Regions from separate parts of the Homo sapiens genome. Here region 2 is linked to region 1. The links are contacts of gene promoters, found by promoter capture Hi-C in blood cells and fetal thymus (Javierre and others, 2016). All regions are on one chromosome and are shown on one strand. The core of a region is centred on a gene start or on the middle of the fragment in contact, and the rest is flanking DNA. Distances in the headings are between cores, read along the strand shown.

Region 1 (5,420 bases), core at 1,947-4,446:
AGGAATATCATTTAAAATAGCATCGAAAACCGCTTCTAGGGGCAGGTCGGCACACAAAGAAAACGAAAGCTTTGCAAGACCCTCGGCGCACGTCTGCGCAAAGGGTCTCTGTGTCTCTACGCCCAGATGGCCATTTTGAGTCCCGAGCTGGCAGCCACCCTTCTCTTCTGTTTTCTCAGCTTCTTCACCCGCTTCTATCTGATAGCCTTTTTCTCCCGAGTGTTTGGTAGCAAAGTTGCTTTTCCTAAGGGGCGAGAACGGGAGCTGGTGGTTAGCAAGCAGACGCAGTTTTACGCGCCCCTGCTACGGGCAGGAGCGAGTGGCCCTGCCTTCTCTGCCAGCGCGGGTTCCCTGGGGGTGAGGAAAGTGAGTTCCACGTCCCGGGTGGGGCAGGACTTGGTGTTTAGTGCCCAGCGCCAGATAACGCCGGAAGAACCCCAAGTGGAGACTGCTTGCATCCTTCGGGAAAAGTCTAAGTGCTAAGTACCATGACAGTGGCAGGAACCAAGCTGTTGGGTACAGCTTGTGGAAGTGCACACTGGCTGTCGTTGATCCAGTGTTGTATTATTTTTTCATAAATATATATGAAATATATGAAATATATATGAAATATAAAAATATATATATATATTGCCCATGACACAGACCTCAGGAGATCCTGAGAACATGTGCCCGATCCAGTGTTTTATTTGCACAGACACCCTAAAGGGCACCAGCAGTACAAGGCTGATGAAATAACTTATGGCATAGTCGTACAACGGAATACTATACAGTTCTACGAAAGGAGGAAGAGGCTCTATGTACTGATATGGAAAAATCTCCACTGATTATGTACGCTGTGCAGAACAGTACGTTATGTTATCTTTTCTACAAAAAGGAGAAAATAATATATATGTATTTACTTGTGTATATTTAAAGAAATTCTGGAAAGATGTATACAAATTTGATAACAGTGGCCAGGTTTTGAGGTTTTAAAAAATGTTTCTGCTTTTTGTTTTGAAGAGGCGGGAACTAAATTGACAGGAGACTGAGACTTTTCACTTTACGCTTTTAAAATATTTGAACATAATAACGTTCAGATCGTGAATGTATTCCATAAAGAATGAGATAAGCTGAATTTTAAAAATAAGTGGCATGGGCTGGGCGCGGTGGCTCTCGCCCGTAATCCCAGCACTTTGGGAGGCCGAGGCGGGTGGATTGCCTGAGCTCAGAAGTTCGAGACCAGCCTGGGCAACAGGGTGAAACCCCGTCGCTACTAAAACACAAAAAATCAGCTGGGCGTGGCAGCGTGCGCCTGTATAATCCCAGCTACTCCGGAGGCTGAGACAGGAGAATCGCTTGAACACGGGAGGTGGAGGTTGCAGTGAGCCAAGAGCATGCCACTGCACTCCAGCCTGGGTGACAGAGCAAGACTCCGTCTCAAAAAAAAAAAAAAAAAAGACGTGTAATTTTTATGAGCATGAATTGCATGGATCAAATGTGTTATGAGTTAAAATGCAATATTCAAGACACTGAAAACAAAATTTCCAGTATACTTCCAAATTCCTGAGAAAAATTTCAAAAGTTCTAAATAATTGGAAGTATATACCATGCTCATTCATTGGAAGACTCAATATTTTTATAGCAAAGTAAAAAAAGAACATACAGCTATACATACATAACATGGAAAGATCTCACAGATAAAATGTTGGTCAAAAGAAGGCAGACAAAAGCGTAGGTACTGAATTATTATTTATATGAAAGTCAAGAACAGTTAAACTAATTTATAGTGATAGAGATGAACCCAAGCAATGACCTTTGTAAAGTATTGCCTGGGAAGGACCATAAGGAAGCCCTTCTGGGGTGTCGATAATATCCAGCCCCCACCCACCCCCTGCAGCCTCGACTGCAGTGAACTATGCTCAAAGGATCCTTCCGGCTCAACCTCTCCTTACTCCAGCATTTTGAAGTTTAGTCGAGCATGGTGTCGCGCACCTGTATTCCCAGCTGCTGGGGAGGTTAAGGCAGAGGACTGCTTGAACTATGATGGCGCCACTGCACTCCAGCCTGGGCGACAGAGCAAGACCCTGCCTCAAAACAAAACAAAAAATTCTTTATTTTGATCTGGGTGGTAGTTTCATGAGTGTATGCATGTGCAAAAATTCATAGAATGTGTTTGGTGCACTTATATTGTGCATGTTATGTATCTCGAGTTTTTAAGCAATGAGAAACCATTGTAAGATTAAAAGGTGAATGACATGATCCGATTTATGTTTTAAAAATAGATTTTTACCAGGAACGGAAGCCAGAAGACCAGTTAAAAGGCTATCGCATGGCTGGCCAGGCGTGCACGCCTGTAATTCCAGCTACGTGGAAGGCTGAGAGGCAGGAGAATCGCTTGAACCCGGGAGGCGGAGGTTGCAGTGAGCCGAGATCGCCCCACTGCACTCCAGCCTGGGCAACAAGAGAGAAACTCCGTCTCAAAAAAATAAAAAATAAAATAATAATAATTAAAAAAAAAGGTATCGCATGGTGCTAGGTAGAAGGGACGGTGGAAAGGGGGCAGAAGAGGACGCATTGGACAGAGGTGTGGGAGCAGAATCTGCAGGGTATAGAGAGCTAGAGGGAAGTGTCAAAAATAACTTTTGGGGTTTCCACCATAGGAAATGGAAGACGAGCAGCACAAGACTGGCAGGAAAGAAAATGAAGACTAAAACTTGTGGAAGTAGAGATTTGGGGAAAGAGCAGTTGGGAGAGAGCTAAGGAATTTCCTTAAGTGGGAGGCGAGGTCCGGCGGGAACAGTTGAGGCAGGGCCTGAGAAGGGTGCCCAGTGAGTGCGAGTATGAATGGATAGGGGCATCCGGGATTAAGAGGAGAGGCTGGAGTTTCCCCAGGAGTGGTGAAGTGCCTCGAAGGAGGCGGGAGATCCCTAAGGAATACTCTTGGCGATCGGGGCAGAATCGCAGGCACTAACAGTAGGCATCGGGATAAGACTGGCAGGACTAAGATGCCAGCCAGGCTCCGCCCCGGAGGCTTGGAAGTGCGGGACACCGAGAGCAGGGATGCCGGGACAGCCGGCCCGATCCCCGGTGCGGAACCAATTGTGACGACGGCTAGGTTACCCGCCGGCGCTACAAAGGTGCCACACCGGAGGGGCGGCGTGCGCCGGCGTGCGCCGGCGTGACGCGGCTACGCGGGATGGGCCGGGCCAGGGCCAAGGCCGAGGCGGCAGCGGCTGCGAGAGGCGGCGGCACGACGACGGTCCCTCAGCCCAGCCACCATGAGCACCAAGCAGATCACTTGCAGGTCAGTGCGCTGGAGCCAGGAGCTTCGGGCCGCTCCCCCAGGCCGCAGGGGGGCCGGTGCGCGCCAGTGCTGTGGTCCGGGAACCTGAGGCTAGAGCGGGACTCGGAAAGTTACTCGGCTGTTCGCGGCGGGGCTTTGCGAGGCAGAGCGAGCGCTGCCGCCACAGCCGGGGATCCGGGGGATGCGTGGCCGAGACGCTGGGCGAGGCCAGCGCGGGGGGCTACGCCCCGAGTTTGAAGCGTGGCCCCTGTGGGCTGGGAGGAAGGACGTCCTAGCCAGGGCCGTGCAGGATGCCGGGGCGCTGTCGGGAAGGCTCTGGGGCTTACGCTTTAACTGGAAAAGATTTGAAGTTGAGTAAAGGGACGCCGAGAGGACGGTTACAAATGGGGATACCACATAGGAGTAATTTGTTAATCGATTATGAGGGCCTCAAAGTTTGGAGAATCCAGATGCAATCTAAACTTGCAGAGAGTTAACAAGTAAAAGTTGTTGTGTGGAAAATAACGACAGGTAGCATATTGTGAATATCGGCGAAGCGCCCTGCATATTTCCAAGTCCTTTATATTCATTATCATCAGACTTCACAGTAAGACAACTTAGTAGTTATTATTACCATTTTACAGTGCAGGAAACTGAGACCGAAAGACGTTGACACTCATTTATCTTACTGAGAGAGCCATTTACGAGGAGAAATGCGACGGTAATGGATGGTTTATTGTAGAAAATAGCCAGATAGCTACACTACGACTGCTCCTATGAAATAGAATAGTGTGGTTGTGTAACACCCTCATTGCTTGGTCAGCTTGTGGCTTACTGGTAATGGAGTCTAGTCCTATTGAATTGTATGTTTGGAAAACGCAAATTGAATTGTATGCTTGGAAAATGCAAATTTCATTTAATAATTTTTATGGGAAACATTGCTTAAAAACAGTTATAGAGTTTGTGTAATAAACAGTTTATTTTCTATGTTGTTACTTCTCTTCATTGGTATGAATAGTTGAGACGTGACTGTGTAGTAAGTTTTCTGTTAGCATTAGTGTACATTTACTGTTCAATTTATCCAAGGCCCAGGTGGCTTATGTTAAGCTGTTGTCAGAAATTTGCACCTAGTGTCTATAAAAAGACTTTTACTAGGTTATTTGTACTAGAAGGTGTTTTGTGAAGACGGGTTTGTGTGTGTTTACGTATTTTTATTTGTATAAAGTTTCTCCTGCTGGAGGAAGTATTCCTAGGTCATTGTGCACTGTAAAGCAGCTTGTAGCCTCCTAGAAAAACCTCTGTATTCCTCCCCTCGCTCTATGGTTTAATTCTACCATTTATTCCCGTACCTCATCTAAGAAGTGTCCACAAAACAGTACACATTTATGTAATAATGCTTTATAATTGAATCTCAACTCTGTAGTATCTTATTTTACAAATAAGGAATCTTATGCTCAGAAAGACTTGAAATTTGCCTAAAATTTTACACCTTAGTAGAGGCACAAGGACCTAAATCAGGATCATCTTGGTTTTTTCCTTGTATACCTGGAGATAGCTTGACTTGAAAGCTTTAATTCTGTTTCCCAAACAGGGGTGTTCTGTAGGATGTTGCTCCATATAAATGAAGATTGGGTTGGAATGTTGAGAAGGGATCACTTCTGTTTAAGTGTTTAGTCATGTTTGTTGGGGACTTACAATGTGCTGCGGCTCTTAGGTACTGTAGTGTATAATCCAGCAACCAGCGCTCTTCCACAGATCGTAAAACTGAGCCTCAGCATTGAAGCGACTTGCCTAAGGTCATTTAGCTTCCAAGTGACAGAGGTGTGAAATCAAAGTTCATGCCCTCATAGACTGTAGGGCCTCCAGATAAGTTTTGAAATGCTAAATTAAAATTTATTTATTGCAGGACTTATCAAAGCTTTTAATGTGTTCCCATGAAAGGAAACTCATACAAGGATATGTAAAACTGCAAAGAAGTTTACTCACAAAAGGGTGTAAAGGAGTCAGGGCTCCCGATGACTGCCTTGCCAAATAAAAAACATAACAGGTGTTTTAAGTGGGAAAAAACCAATATGACCAAGAGTACCAAGTTTACATTAGTGTGTTTATCTACCATCAACTTTTCTACCAGCTTATCTACCAAAAGCTTTTCTCA
Region 2 (5,420 bases), core at 1,060-3,559, 710 kb before region 1:
AAATAGCCACGGTAATCTTTGGCACATATTCCTTCCAATATTTTTCTATGAATATATTAACATTAAAAACAATTTTAAGTGGATTCCTAGGATAGATACTATTTTGCAATTTGCTTTTTTTGCACTTAGCGTATCAGGGACAATGTTCTGTGTCAGAATATATAGATTTCCCTCATTCCATGTATTAGTAGCAAATTATTCTAAGATATGGATATGCCATAATTTTGTTTAAAATTTTTTGTTTAAAAGAAAGTGTTTAAACATTTTCTTTCTCTTTCTTTCTTTCTTCTTTTCTTTTGTTTCTTTCTTTTTTTTTTTTTTTTTTTGAGAGCGAGTCTTGCTCTGTCACCCAGGCTGGAGTGCAGTGGCACAATCTAGGCTCCCTGCAACCTCCACCATCCGGGTTGAAGTGATTCTCCTGCCTCAGCCTCCTGAGTAGCTGGGATTACAGGTGCCCGCCACCACATCTGGCTAAGTTTTGTATTTTTCGTAGAGACAGGGGTTTCACTATGTTGGCCAGGCTGGTCTCGAACTCCTGACCTCAAGTGATCCACCCGCCTCGGCCTCCCAAAGTGCTGGGGTTACAGGCATCCTGGCCTGTTTAAACATTTTATTGTTGATGGATGTAGGTTATTTCTAGTTTTCACACCTGCAAACAATGCTATCATGAGCATCCTTGTACATTTTATGTGCATGAACAAGTATTGCTATAAGACAGATTCCTAGAAGGGGAATTGCTGGGTCAGAGTGTCAGCACGCTGCTAAATTCCCCTCCAAAAGATGGTGCCAATTCACACACCCACCAGCAGAGTTCAGCCCTTGATAGAAATAAAGATGCTGCAATGTTTCTCCATTTGTCTCCCTTACAGGCGTTCACACCCAATTATCAGCAATTTTCATGTTCACAAACACTTTTCTTCCTGCAATGCAAAACCACCAGCTGGAAGGTTCCATCACATTCCTGTGTGCATTTTGCCTTTCCCCAGAAAGAGGCAGAAGCAACGTAGCCACGAACACATTTGTATTCTTCAGCAGAAATCTCCCTGCTCCTGGCCCTTCATCCACCCACTCTCTTTTAAATTACCATGGCTTGTGAAATTAGAGGCTATTAGGAAGACCCAGTGTTCTATATAATCGCTTTAGGGTTCTGTTGGAAAGCTTATACCAATGAAATAAACATGTTAGAGAGCCACTTACAAATATAGATAAATGCCTGGTGACTCGAGTGAATATTGGGCCTCATTCTTCTGATTTATCTAGCAGTTGTCTTTGTATTCCTTAATAATGACCTTGTCAGGCTTTCACTAGGAGAAGGTTCATCGAATCCATGTAATCCATTTTTTTTAAAGCCCTGTAAAAAAACATCTATGGCTTTAATGCTTTTTTTTTTTTTTTCTAATCAGTGTTTAAGTACAGGAGAGAAAAATGTTTGGGGAAGAATAAAAATCCAGGCTCAGTGGTTCTTACAATTAGCCACATGTTCAATTGGTCTGCTGATGGAGGGGAAGGAGAGGGGTCTTGATCTCCATCTTGTCAGAGGTGGGTCACCCTGTCCCATTTGTCCATTCTCGGCTGATTGATGGTTAGAACTGGGACAGACTGGGAGCATTTTTTCGTTTTTTCTTTTCTTTTCTTTCTTTTCTTTTCTTTTTTTCTTTTCTTTTCTTTTTTTTTTTTTTTTTTTTTTGAGACAGGGTTTCACTCTGTCACCCAGGCTGGAGTGCAGTGGCACGATCTCGGCTCACTGTAACCTCTGCCTCCCAGGCTCGAGTGATCCTCCCACCTCAGCCTCCTGAGTAGCTGGGATTACAGGCATGTACTACCACACCAGGCTAATTTTTGTATTTTTGTAGAGAATGGGGTTTCACCATGTTGTCCAGGCTGGTCTTGAACCCTTGAGCTCGAACAATCCACCCACCTAGGCCTCCCAAAGTGCTGGAATTACAGGCGTGAGCCACTATGCCCAGCCAACTGAGAGCATCTTAATACATCTTTAGTGTCTGATCAGGGGCTTGAAGGTACCACCTGGGTTGGAATCCAGGCCCCAGGATTTAATAGCTGTGTGACCTTGGACAAGAAGACTTAGCCTCTCTGTGCTTTCCTTTCCTCATCTGCAGCCTGGGGAGAGTAATGACACCTCACTCACAGGGTTGTTGTGACAGCAAATGAAACAGTATCTAGAAAGTACATAGAATAGTGCCTGGAGTAAGCTTTCAATAAACGGAGGACATCCTCCTGAATTCTTAAGAGACAATGTACAAAAGGAATTAAGAAGCATAATTATACCTACATCTTTATGGCGTTTAGCATTTTACACAAAGCACTTTGCAGACATGATTTTATTTAGCTCTTAAAACAAATCCTGGGAAATTAGTAGCTACTATTTCAGTTTTACAGATGGATAAACTGAAGCTTAGAAAAAAGAATTGATGTGCCTGAAGTCACAGGGCTAATGGCAGCTGCTAATACAGCCTCCAAGTCCAATCCCTTTCCTCTTGCACGAGAAAAATAACACGGGGTGTTCATTTCACCAAGGGACCCATTCATTCATTGATTCATTCTCCCATTGAAACCTTCCTCATCCTTTAGTCCCAGCTCAGCTATCAAAGTGTTCTGTTCTCTGTGCCTTCCTAACCCTTTGCTTTTAGCTCTCTAGCTCTTGTCTTAAATATCAGATATGTCCATCAAGTACAATTATAAAAGGCTTAGGGGCCCTTTGAGGTCAGGAACCATATCTTATTAATCTTTCTGTCCTTTAGTGCCTAGTACAGTGCCTGAAACAAAATTTCTGCATTTGCAAATGTTATAGTCTGGTGGCAAAAAATTCACATGCATGCAAAAAAAAATACACTATGGAGAGTATAAACCAGATCTATACCACCGCAATGGTAAGACAGCAGGGGTTACTTTTTCTTCAGGGTTTCTGGGAAAGCTTCTTAGAGGGATGACATTTGGATTAGACCTTGGAAGATGACCAGCAGTTCACCAGAGAGTACACCGTGAAAAAATTCTAAGAAGAAAGAATTGCCTCCATACTGGGTCTTAGAATCCTCCTTCTAGGGGGACACTGAGTTTTCCAGTGGAGTTCAGGAAGACCATGGACTTTTACAGTACCAAAGAAATGAATAAATAATGGTGGAATTCCAAAGAACAGAGCAGGTATCTCATCTGAGAGGCAGAATGTGGAATCTGGATTGAGACTGCTTGGTTTCAATTCTCAGCCACTGATGATCTGTGTGACCTGGTGCAAGTTGGCTCTGTGTCTCAGTTTCCACAAGTATAAAATGGGGATAATAAGAGCGTCTACCTCCCAGAGTTGTCATGACAACTAAGCTGGTTAGATCAATCTCTGACATGTAGTGAGTACTACGTATGTGTTTACCCTTCTGATTCTCCACTATCCCTGAAATTCAAGCTGGTCAGCAGCTGCCCACTTTATCTCTCTGTAGAACTGGCCCTGAATTTTGGGAGAAACTGAATTGGCAAAGAACTGAGTTAGAAGAGAAAGAATTAGTTACCATATACCAAGTCTGTCTCTGGCATGAACCCCTGCGATCTGGGTTTGGTGTAAAGCAGCTTGTCCCAAGGAGGGTTATTTGATAAAAAATTCTATCAGCTAAGTTTGGGAAATTCTGGATTAAACAGAGGCAAATCGAGATCTTTGATGTGGGATTCCTCCGAGCATTAATATATTAATAAGCATTGTGAATCTCCAAGAGAGAAGCAGAACATGTAGCATTTTCCAATCTCCCAGACTAGGTTTTCCTCCATCCTCTGCTCCCTCCACCTTCTCTCTCAGTGTCTTCTGGGATTCATATTCTGTGGCATAAATTTAGGAAGCGCTGGTGCCAAGCACTCCCTTGCTGTCCCAGAATCATCTCAGTGTCCCAAACCAATCAAGACTAATTTTCACGGACCTCTTTTGCCTGAAGGCACCAGGGGATCCTATAGCCTAAGAGAGAGATTGGGGAATTTCTCAACACATGAATTACGGTTATAACTTGTGGGTGTAAAAAGCCAAGAATTTCTACGCTTTGGACTCTGAGGATGTCTTTGTTCAGACCCAGAACTGACAAAACTCTAGGTACAATCTTCCTAGACTTACTTCCTACAAAGCGTTTAGAATGACACTTTCCAAACCTCCAGGGTAACCCTTTTGTGAAGTCCTAATTAGAGAAAAGGAGTTAGGCTGGTGAGAGCACGGGAAAGCAAAGAAAGAAAGAAAGCAGATAAGCTATGAGTCTGCCTTTCTTTGTGGTCCAGGACACGTAGCCCTCCTGTGCCCAACTTATCACTAGACACCTGTACAGCTCGCTGTAACCTTGGCGTTATCAATACTGCACAAAGCTCTTTTCAGTACACAGCAAAGAACCATCCTATAAAATCTCCAGCAAGCCTTTGTTTCCTTGCAGTCAGCTTCTCTCTTGCTGATTCTGCCTGTTGCTCCTTTGCAATGTACTTTCATACTTTCTCTACTAAATCTGCCTTTCTTTACCTACAACTGTCTTGGTAAAGCCTTCTTACCCCCACGCCACCAGCTCAGATAGTTGCCACTTACCAATGACACCTTTCACCTGGGTAAATTCCTCTCTTTTTGGGGTCCCAAAATATCTTGAGCTTCCTGGGCCTGTTAGGAAGTGATATTCTTTACTTACCACAGGTCAGGAATCTTGTAAAGAAACTATGTAGACAAGGTACCAGGCAATCTTTTGTTTGTTTGTTTGTTTTGAGACAGGGCCTCCCTCTGTAACACAGGCTGAGTGCAGTGGTAATCATAGCTCACTGCAGCCTTGAACTCCTAGGCTCAAGCATTCCTCTGCCTCAATCTCTCAAGTAGGTAGGACTAAACATGTATGCCACCACTCCTGGCTTTTATTTATTTTTTTTTGGTAGAGACAAGGTCTTGCCACGTTGCCCAGGCTGGTCTTGAACACCTGGCCTCAAGTGATCCTACGGCTTCGGCCTTTCAAAGTGCTGGGATTATGGGGGTGAGCTGCCATGCCTAGCCTAGGCCAATCTCTTCAAGGGGCTTTTTATTAGCACTGTAAAGTCGATGTCAATTCCTCAACATAGTCTGGTCATATCTGAAAATAGGTCATTCCAGTCAAAGCCTTGGTAACATAACCAGTTTCTCTAATTGTGTCATGTTACAAAAGAAAACAGATTCTTACTGAACTTATGTAAATAACTATATTGTCATAAATTAAGAATACTCACAAATAGTTTCTAAATTCCAAATAAACCAGGTAAAGAGAAAGATATCTGTTTTAAATTTTGCTGACAAAAGTATACTTTACCCATTTGTTATAAGCTACGAATAGCTGAAACAAAAAAGTTTTTTGACTCTGAAAACAAAACATTAAAAGGACTGGCAATGTTTTTTAAAAAAGAGGCTGTGAAAAAATCAGTTTAGTCTTTTA

Evidence for each region. The method cuts DNA at HindIII sites, captures the fragments that hold promoters and counts their contacts. A CHiCAGO score of 5 or more calls a contact.
Region 2: a contact is called between a fragment that was not itself captured here and the fragment with the promoter of MKRN2 in region 1, in 1 of 17 cell types (naive CD8 T cells). The highest score is 5.3, in naive CD8 T cells.

Annotation. Positions count from the first base shown.
Region 1 is chr3:12,553,891-12,559,310 of GRCh38, forward strand. MKRN2 (makorin ring finger protein 2) reads left to right here and starts at 3,197. Exons shown (of 8, transcript NM_014160.5): 1 at 3,197-3,286. The coding sequence starts at 3,261. It also overlaps a transcript of MKRN2OS not described here. RefSeq lists enhancers at 2,817-2,926, 2,977-3,036, 3,424-3,947, 3,857-3,916 and a silencer at 3,207-3,296. The HindIII fragment of the contact is 4,764 bases long and covers 68-4,831 here.
Region 2 is chr3:11,849,340-11,854,759 of GRCh38, forward strand. No RefSeq gene overlaps it. Among named protein-coding and RNA genes, the nearest start is that of TAMM41, 5.2 kb to the left of the region's middle. The HindIII fragment of the contact is 202 bases long and covers 2,209-2,410 here.